Regions from separate parts of the Homo sapiens genome. Here region 2 is linked to region 1. The links are contacts of gene promoters, found by promoter capture Hi-C in blood cells and fetal thymus (Javierre and others, 2016). All regions are on one chromosome and are shown on one strand. The core of a region is centred on a gene start or on the middle of the fragment in contact, and the rest is flanking DNA. Distances in the headings are between cores, read along the strand shown.

The links. Contacts are between HindIII fragments. The CHiCAGO score rates a contact against its expected background, and 5 or more counts as called.
Region 2: a contact is called between a fragment that was not itself captured here and the fragment with the promoter of PRMT6 in region 1, in 1 of 17 cell types (fetal thymus). The highest score is 8.9, in fetal thymus.

Annotation. Positions count from the first base shown.
Region 1 is chr1:107,054,995-107,059,759 of GRCh38, forward strand. PRMT6 (protein arginine methyltransferase 6) reads left to right here and starts at 1,680. Exons shown (of 1, transcript NM_018137.3): 1 at 1,680-4,300. The coding sequence starts at 1,722. The coding sequence ends at 2,849. RefSeq lists enhancers at 1,912-1,961, 1,982-2,121, 2,132-2,261, 2,272-2,481. The HindIII fragment of the contact is 2,330 bases long and covers 1-1,743 here.
Region 2 is chr1:108,558,047-108,562,531 of GRCh38, forward strand. EEIG2 (EEIG family member 2) reads left to right here and starts at 2,054. Exons shown (of 11, transcript NM_001010883.3): 1 at 2,054-2,519. The coding sequence starts at 2,383. RefSeq lists a silencer at 1,715-2,254 and enhancers at 2,645-2,744, 3,208-3,257. The HindIII fragment of the contact is 1,122 bases long and covers 707-1,828 here.

The DNA of each region.
Region 1 (4,765 bases), core at 430-2,929:
AGCTTTTAAAAACTAGAAGCCCAGGTTCCACTGGAGTGATTCCGATTTAATTGGTCTGAGGTAGACCCAGGCATCGGTATTTTTTAAAAAGCTCCTTAGAGAATTCTAATAAGCAGCCAGGATGGAGAGTCTTGAGTTAGAAGTAGAGTACAGCTAAGGATGCCATATCAATAAACCTATTCTGCTAATGAAAGATTAATAGAGAAAATAGGATGAAAGAACTTTGATCCCAGACAAGGAATACAGGCCTATTGGTTACAAGGACATAATTCAAGACCACAAGAAAATAAAAATCCATTTTACTCTGAGTGACTTTTTTTTCAAGCTGGCAGAAAATGGCATTATGCCCACCTTGTTAATAACACGGACACCCATACAGATGCCACACATATTTAAAAACATATTTTATTTCCATTATGGACAACAAAAAGAGAGTAACAGCTGATGGTTGACTACAAGAAAAATATAAGAGAAAGAGGAGAGTGTCAATATTGCCCGGACAAGAAAACACAGGAAAAAATGAATTGCATTGAGAAAGTGATTAAAAGAAATTGATTCCGTTATTTCTGAGAGAAAAAAACGCATATATATATAGAATACACCTAGCAACGAGTTTGCTTGTATCACATGGCTCTTGAGTCTGCACTTTTCAGGATTTAACTCTTAAGAGAGCCACAGAATTATCAGAGCAGAGCCGAAAGCCAAGTAACTATTCTTCTAAGTAGAACCAGAAACCTAGTTCTTCCCCAACTGCAATGAAGATTCGCTGGTGGGTGAATGGGCAACTAAAGGCCAGAGAAGTTCTATTATTTGCCCTAAATCACTCAACTAATTAGTGGTCATACTGGAATCAGAACCAAGATTTTGCATTGTTAGGTTTTAATTTTGTTACATTTGCACTCTAACTGCACTGAAAACAGAAAAAAGAAATGCGTAGTGCAGTTTCTAAATTGCCACAGCTGGAGCACTTTAAGAGCTACAATTGTCCAGTTAAGGCGGTAGTGGGTGGATGGTGCTGCCATGTTAATTCGGTGGAATAAAACCAGAGGTGAGTTAGGCCGGGCGCGGTGGCTCACGCTTGTAATCCCAGCACTTTGGGAGGCCGAGGTGGGCGGATCACCTGAGGTCGCGAGTTTGAGACCAGCCTGACCAACAGGGAGAAACCCCGTCTACCAAAAATACAAAATTAGCCGGCCCTGGTGGCATGCGCCCGTAATCCCAGCAACTCGGGAGGCTGAGGCAGGAGAATCGCTTGAACCCAGGAGGCGGAGGTTGCGGTGAGCGGAGATCGCGCCATTGCACTCCAGCCTGGGAAACAAGAGCGAAACTCCCTCTCAAAAAAAACAAAAAACAGAAAAACAAACAAAAAAAACAGAGGTGAGTTCAGCAGAAGAAACAAAGGTGGATTATTAGTCTTAAGTGTGCGTGCCTACTTCAGGAAGGGAGTGAAAGCAAAAAACTGAGGAGCTAAGGGTGGGAGGGGGAATGAAAGGATCTCAGAATGTGGGCGTCGTGGGTGGGAAAAGGGATGCCAGGACACCAGAAGAGCAATACAAAACAGCTCCCGTGAGCAGGCACAGGAGACCTTCCGCGCCGCCGGCCGGGCGACCCCGCAGGAAGTAGGAAGGACGAGCGCGCACTACAAGTCCCAGAAGCCCCCGTTTCCTGGAGCCCGCGCCGTGCCGCGCTACGCCCGCCGGGAGCCGGGCAGAGCGGCCAAGATGTCGCAGCCCAAGAAAAGAAAGCTTGAGTCGGGGGGCGGCGGCGAAGGAGGGGAGGGAACTGAAGAGGAAGATGGCGCGGAGCGGGAGGCGGCCCTGGAGCGACCCCGGAGGACTAAGCGGGAACGGGACCAGCTGTACTACGAGTGCTACTCGGACGTTTCGGTCCACGAGGAGATGATCGCGGACCGCGTCCGCACCGATGCCTACCGCCTGGGTATCCTTCGGAACTGGGCAGCACTGCGAGGCAAGACGGTACTGGACGTGGGCGCGGGCACCGGCATTCTGAGCATCTTCTGTGCCCAGGCCGGGGCCCGGCGCGTGTACGCGGTAGAGGCCAGCGCCATCTGGCAACAGGCCCGGGAGGTGGTGCGGTTCAACGGGCTGGAGGACCGGGTGCACGTCCTGCCGGGACCAGTGGAGACTGTAGAGTTGCCGGAACAGGTGGATGCCATCGTGAGCGAGTGGATGGGCTACGGACTCCTGCACGAGTCCATGCTGAGCTCCGTCCTCCACGCGCGAACCAAGTGGCTGAAGGAGGGCGGTCTTCTCCTGCCGGCCTCCGCCGAGCTCTTCATAGCCCCCATCAGCGACCAGATGCTGGAATGGCGCCTGGGCTTCTGGAGCCAGGTGAAGCAGCACTATGGTGTGGACATGAGCTGCCTGGAGGGCTTCGCCACGCGCTGTCTCATGGGCCACTCGGAGATCGTTGTGCAGGGATTGTCCGGCGAGGACGTGCTGGCCCGGCCGCAGCGCTTTGCTCAGCTAGAGCTCTCCCGCGCCGGCTTGGAGCAGGAGCTGGAGGCCGGAGTGGGCGGGCGCTTCCGCTGCAGCTGCTATGGCTCGGCGCCCATGCATGGCTTTGCCATCTGGTTCCAGGTGACCTTCCCTGGAGGGGAGTCGGAGAAACCCCTGGTGCTGTCCACCTCGCCTTTTCACCCGGCCACTCACTGGAAACAGGCGCTCCTCTACCTGAACGAGCCGGTGCAAGTGGAGCAAGACACGGACGTTTCAGGAGAGATCACGCTGCTGCCCTCCCGGGACAACCCCCGTCGCCTGCGCGTGCTGCTGCGCTACAAAGTGGGAGACCAGGAGGAGAAGACCAAAGACTTTGCCATGGAGGACTGAGCGTTGCCTTTTCTCCCAGCTACCTCCCAAAGCAGCCTGACCTGCGTGGGAGAGGCGTAGCGAGGTCGGAGGGGAAAGGGAGATCCCACGTGCAAGTAGGGGGAATATCTCCCCCTTTTCCCTCATAGCCTCTAGGGAGGGAGAGTGACTTCATTCTCCATTTGAAGAGATTCTTCTGGTGATGTTTACTTAAAAAGTGATCCCCCTCAACAACGGATACAGCGTGCTTATTATTGGGCATTTAGCCTCAAAAGCATGTAGTACCAAGCACTTGTATTTCCGTATATTTTGTTTCGCGGGGGAGTGAGGGGGAAGAACACGGATGAAAATGTCAGTTTTTGAAGGGTCCATGCACATCCCTGACACCTCACACCTTATCTAAGTCTGAAGCTGGGGAGAAAGGGGTTCATTTAGACTTCATACATTTCCAGTACGACTTTAGTATCTCTCCAGAGCCATATTTTCTCAGTCCGAATTAATTCCCCCTCCCTAGGTGCCTGTAGGCTATGGTACTTCTTCCTCATTGTTTTCTAGGTAAACTTCACTACTGGTAATTAAGGGGAAGGATATGAGGAAGCAGTTTAAATAGCCCTGTTCTCATTACTCTGACCACATACATCATAGGGTGCTAAAGTTGATGAACACATTAATCCGTTAAGTAAAATGGACTTTGTAATTGTACAGCATACCTAAGAAACTCAGAAGGTGCATTTAAGAGAGAGACCTGAAAGAAATAGTATGGATTTTTAAAAATTCTTGTCTCTACTATTATAACCAAAAAATATTTCTTGTATGTCCCATAAAAATATTTGTGTAATTCTTATGAAACAGGCTGGTAGAGGAGGTTTCTGAGCCTAGCCCAAGGGCTTATTCATCACCATGGGTAAATTATTTAAACTCACTTAATTAAGGAAAATATTTTCCCAGCTAGAAAAGTATACTCATTCTCATTTAAACTCTCTCATTTGGAGGGATCATGTGAGTTGGCCTACTTACAAGTAGTGAAAGTTCCCTTTTCAGTTTTGTTTTGTTTTGTTTTGTTTTTCTCTTTCACTCAGCCAAATGTGAAAGTTGTGAATTTAGGAAAATCACTTGTAATGAAGTGTGAATCTTGTTATCAAATTTATTTCTCTGATGTTTCCTTCCTTATCCTTGTAGCCAATAAAACATTGACATTCTCACGTTTTATAGATGAGGTAAAAAGTCTTGTGTGCTGTGAGTTATAATGCTTTTGCCTTTTTAATATTATTAGTTCTTAAGTGTTACAGCCCCTTCAGAATATAACTTCAGGACAATTCAAACTATGCTTAATGTATGATTTTCGAGCTTCTGTATGCTAAGAAAATAGGTGTGAAAAACTGGTGTTCTGAAATAGCCTAACATTTATTGTAATTCTGAATTTTCTGCCCTTTTATTCATTGCATATTAAAGTATTAGAGTATAAAAACTAATTTGCTAAACTTTGGTTGTATATAACACAGATCTTCCATCATGGAGAGATATACATGTACAAAATTATCAATTTACAAGATAATTGAGTAGCAAGCAGTACAGTTGTAACCGTCACCATTTTGATGCTAAGATAGTGATCATCTCATGTAAATGCTACAGTCACAGCAAGCTAGACTTAAGCTAGAGGGAAAATAGAGCTCCTTATAAGGTGTTCTATGTTTTAAATCAAATATTTATTTAGAGTTTGAGTGTGTGATTTTGAGTAGGTTTCTGGTGGTTTGGTTTGTTTTTTAAAAAAAACTTGATTTAACAATTCCTTTACTAAGTGATAAATGAGAATATTCTTCCAAATTCTATTTTTTATATATTTGATAAATACTATAGAGTTATCATTATCAGTATAAGCACATAAAGGGAACCTCAGTTAAAACTTGGAGGAACTATAGAAGTAAAGGGTATGTATT
Region 2 (4,485 bases), core at 18-2,517, 1.5 Mb after region 1:
CAATTCAGTAGCTTCTTTTCAGTCCAAATCCTCTGGGACTGCTCTGCAGCACTCTCTTGAAATGGTCCTCTGTCCTACATGGATCACAGATTGCTCTCTCTCTTTCTTTCTCTCTCTCTTCTCTCTCTCACACACACATACTCACATACCACACACACACACTTTAGTTGATCTGTTTGCATATCTCTGTTTTTCTCCATTCCTTTATAAGCCCCTATGTCTTATTCATTTGCATCTCTAGTACCCAGCATAGTGCCTGGCACACAATAGAACTTTGTAACTACGAATGTTACATGATTAAAACCGTCTGGGCTTCCAGGCCATCTCTTTCTTCATCTCCTTTTTCTCTTGACTGCTTGTTCTTAGGCACCTTCACGATCTCCTCTTTGCCTACCCTTTAAATATTCTTCAGAGTAACTCATCCTTATCCACCTTTTGGGCTTCAGCCATCAGCGATTACCTCAATTCCCAAATGTATATTTTCAATTGCCAATGCATTTTTATGAGCTAAGGCTGCCTCTCTCTCCCTAGATGTACTGCAAGCAGATCCCATAAAGACTCATTATCTCTTCCATTCCCAACCTGCCCTCCTCTTGCTTTCAATGTTCAGTCAATGAAATTAACATTCATCCAGTGCTCTAAATGACAAATCTCAAAGTCCCCAAATGCATCTCACTGTCTTTGCCCCCTGTCCTGCAGGGTAAGAAGCTTTATCCATTACCAAATCCCCACCCCCGAACCTGCCTCTGAATCTTTTTTTTTTTTTAATTTATTTCTCCTAGAACAACTTACCCCACTTTGTCCCAAATCATTTTCATCCTTTGAAATTCAGAAAACTGATTAACTTCAATTAATTGCTTCTCTGAGTTCTACATAGCTTGGTGCTAGGTTGTGTTTTTTTAATGACCTGTCTAAACATGTCTTCCTCACTAGATTGTAAAATTCTTGAGGGCAGTTATTGGCTTTTGGTTATGGGGTCTAGCCGATGATTGACATTTTAAGCAATTTTTTTATATGAATGAATGAGTAAACGAGTAAACTGAGAAAGAAAATATTTTCAATTAAACCCTTTCAGAATTACTGTGGCAGAATCTGAGTGAAAATGACAATAACTCAGTTTAAAAACATGAACATCACGTAACCAACTTTGTAACATTCATTGTAACAATACATGCATGATTACAGAAGGCAGGTAATTGTTATTCCCCTAGGGAGATTTTTTTTTAAGCCTGCTCTGAAGATTTTGTTTTGTTTTTAAGACAGGGGCTTGTTCTGTTGCCCAGGCTAGAGTGCAGTGGCGCGATCTCCGATCATTGCAAGCTCCGCTTCCCCGGCTCAGGCTAACCTCCCTCCTCAGCCTCCCGAGTAGCTGGGATTACAGCGTAGCCATGCCAGACTGCCTGCAGAATTTGATTTTAAGCATTTCAGTTCTCAGTATAGACAGACAAATTTTTAAAGGGAGGGTATTATTTTAACTGCTTCTTTGCTCTTTTATCTTTTGTCCTGGGTGACAGGAACTAGATAAGCTATACCCCAGAGAAAGCGCCTGCAGCAGTACGGTGCCTGGGCCCTTGATAGTCCCTCAGCACATCATTTTCCTTTTTCCTACCTTATCTTCCTTTTATATTTGAAGGCTCGTGAATTTAGAGTACCTAACGGAAATTTTAGTTTTAGGATTTCAATTTGACCAAAACAACGCTGAGATTTTAATTGCCTCTATTAACCCATGGCTCTCAAACCCAAAGGAAAGAAACCACTGGAGGGGGTGGGGGAGAAAGGAGGCGGTGCAAAAACTGAAAAGAAAGGCGGAGAGGAAGCGGTAGAAGGAAGCTTTCTCTGTCGGGTTTGTCTTTTTTTAACCCCAGAAAGGCGTGACGTGCTAACTGCCGTCGCGGGTTAGAGTCCGCGGCCAAGCCCGCGCCCGCCCACAAAGTCCCCGCCCTCCCTCCGGCTTCCGCCCCGCCGTGCGCTGCAGGCCGCGGCCGCTGGGGGCGCCCCCGACCCCCGAGGCGCTGAGGCGGCGGTTCCTCGAGCCTCGCCTCTCCCGACTCCCAGACGGGCGGCAGCGGCGGCGGAGGCGGCGGCGGCGGCGGCGGCGAGCTGAGCACCAAAAGGGCGCTCACCTCCCCGGGCGAGCTGCAGCACGACCGCTCCCCGCGGGCGGTCGGGGTCCGCGCCGCAGCTGCCGCCGCGTTCCGGCCCAGGCTGCCGCGAGAGGCGGCGGCAGCGGCCCCGGCCGCGGCCGGCCTGCGGCGCCCCCCGGCCGCGCCCCCGCGCACAGCTCGCGGCCCCGGCCATGGGGCTGGGCTGATCCGGGGCTCGGCCAAGCTGAGGCGGCGGCGCCCGGCCGTGCGCCCAGCTTGCAGGCGCCTGGCTCTCACGATGATGAAGAAGAAGAAGTTTAAGTTTAAGGTGGACTTCGAGCTCGAGGAGCTCTCCTCAGTGCCCTTCGTCAATGGGGTCCTCTTCTGCAAGATGCGGCTGCTGGACGGCGGCAGCTTCACCGCCGAGTCCTCCAGGTAACTCGCCTCCCGCGCCGCCTCGCCCCTTTCTGCTTGGCCAGGGCTTGTTGGATGGGCAGCATCTCTCCTTGGCCCATTTGCTCGCCTTTCCCTAGGGACCGCTCTAAAATCAGTCGAATTTATTGATCTGCAAAGTGCTTTGCAAATGGGTTCTTCTCAGCTGGCCTTGGTTCCTGCGCTCCTGACTCCAGATGGTGCCTGGTATCTGCTCTTCCCTCCCAAATCCTCTAGGAATGGGAGCAATGGCCAGAGAGGGAGGATGCTTCTGTTTTCTCTTAAGACATTTCCATATTTGTGAAATGCAAAGTAGAACTTGAGCTGTTAAAAACTAAAATAACCCAAACTGCAGGAGTTCCAAGAGCCCAGCTCTGAACAGAAACCTGTGCTTAGCACAATTCCTTCTCCCTTGTAGATTACAAGGGGACTTGGCCACCCACTCTGAGGCTGGGGTAGGCCTGGCCAGGCTTGACTTGAGTCAAGTGCTCCTGGCAGACGAGACAACGGTCTGTGCCTCATCAGAGAGCGGCGTCTCCAGTTAGGCGCTAATGCTGGATGAATTAGTCTTGAAGTGGCCACTAGTAGGTCTCCTTGTGGGAGGGCTTAGAGCCAGATGGGGAGCCCAGGCCCTGCCCTCATTTTAAAATGAGCCCCTGGGCACTCCCAGAGAGAGGCATTAGCAGGTTACAGAATGAAGCTATTAAATAATAGGTGTGGCATTAATAATAGGTGTGGCAGTGTTTCTTGAGTAATTTCAGAGCTACTCACAGGTTGACAGATGTACCCTAAGGTGCTTTCTTTAAAATATATACATAGAGAGAGAAAACAATTTTTTAAATGAACTTTTGAGTTCCTGAGATCAAGAAGGGTTAAAAGTTAATGTTATTTTGCCCATATATACTGGTCTTAGGCTTTATTTCTGCCCTAAAAATATTCTACTTAAAAAAAATTCCGTCATCCCATTTATAGTATAAAGGAAATAATGTCACTGGATTGTGGAATTGGGGCTAGAAACTTGTCTTTGGGGCAATATTGAAGCCTATGGAAGCCAGAAAATGTCTAGTTGGCTAAACCAAAGGATATATGAAATTAATAGTTTGCCGAAGACAGTTTTTAAAATTAAACTGTGGTGACACATCAGTGGATATTCAGCTAAGTATTTTAAACACCTGTAAGAGAAGAATGTAACCTATTTTGGTGCAAAAAAAATATTGGACCATCTCTTACTTGTTGAAAAGCCTAAGCCGATTCGTGAAGGTCCTGTTGGTGCAGGTGACAGTCTTGCCCTGAGGCCTAGACTGTTTTGCTGCAGGGTGCCACCCCCGACGCCAGGCAGTTAGACTGGCGCTCCTGGGCCAGTGGTGACACCTGGTGGTCAGGGCACTTGTCTACGGGGCTTCCTTCCTACCTCAGTTATGTTTATTTGGCTTACTTCCCACAAGTCACTTATTCTTTCGTTGTAGGCAGTCATTTATTCAGCAAATATGTGTTGGCTTCTAAATATATTATCTTATTTAATTCTCATAGCAAGTCTATAAGGTAGGGGTTCCATTTCGTAGATAAATAAACTGAGGCTCAGAAAGCATAACTAACTTTCCTAAGGTCCCCTCAGCTGGTAAGTGCGATGCCAAGATTCTGATCAGGTCTGTGTAACTTCAAACAGGGTGGTGCCAGATAAAGGAATAAATCGTGTGCCATATATGAAAGTTTCTGAATAGGGAGCTTCCTAATGACTTTAATGAGCAAGGGGTATACTCCGCAAGACTTAGAAATGAAAAAGTTGAGTATCTTGGGTTAAACTCACCCCTTTTTCTTCCAATTAAAATTTGACTTTGATCAATTTGATTTTAAGTAAGATTAGGAATAGTGCTCTGTGTAGCCAAACCAAAAAGCCATATAGTATGGGGGAAATGACTCACAATAAGGAGCCTGTGCCTTTGACATTAGGTAGAGATAGTTGGTGTAA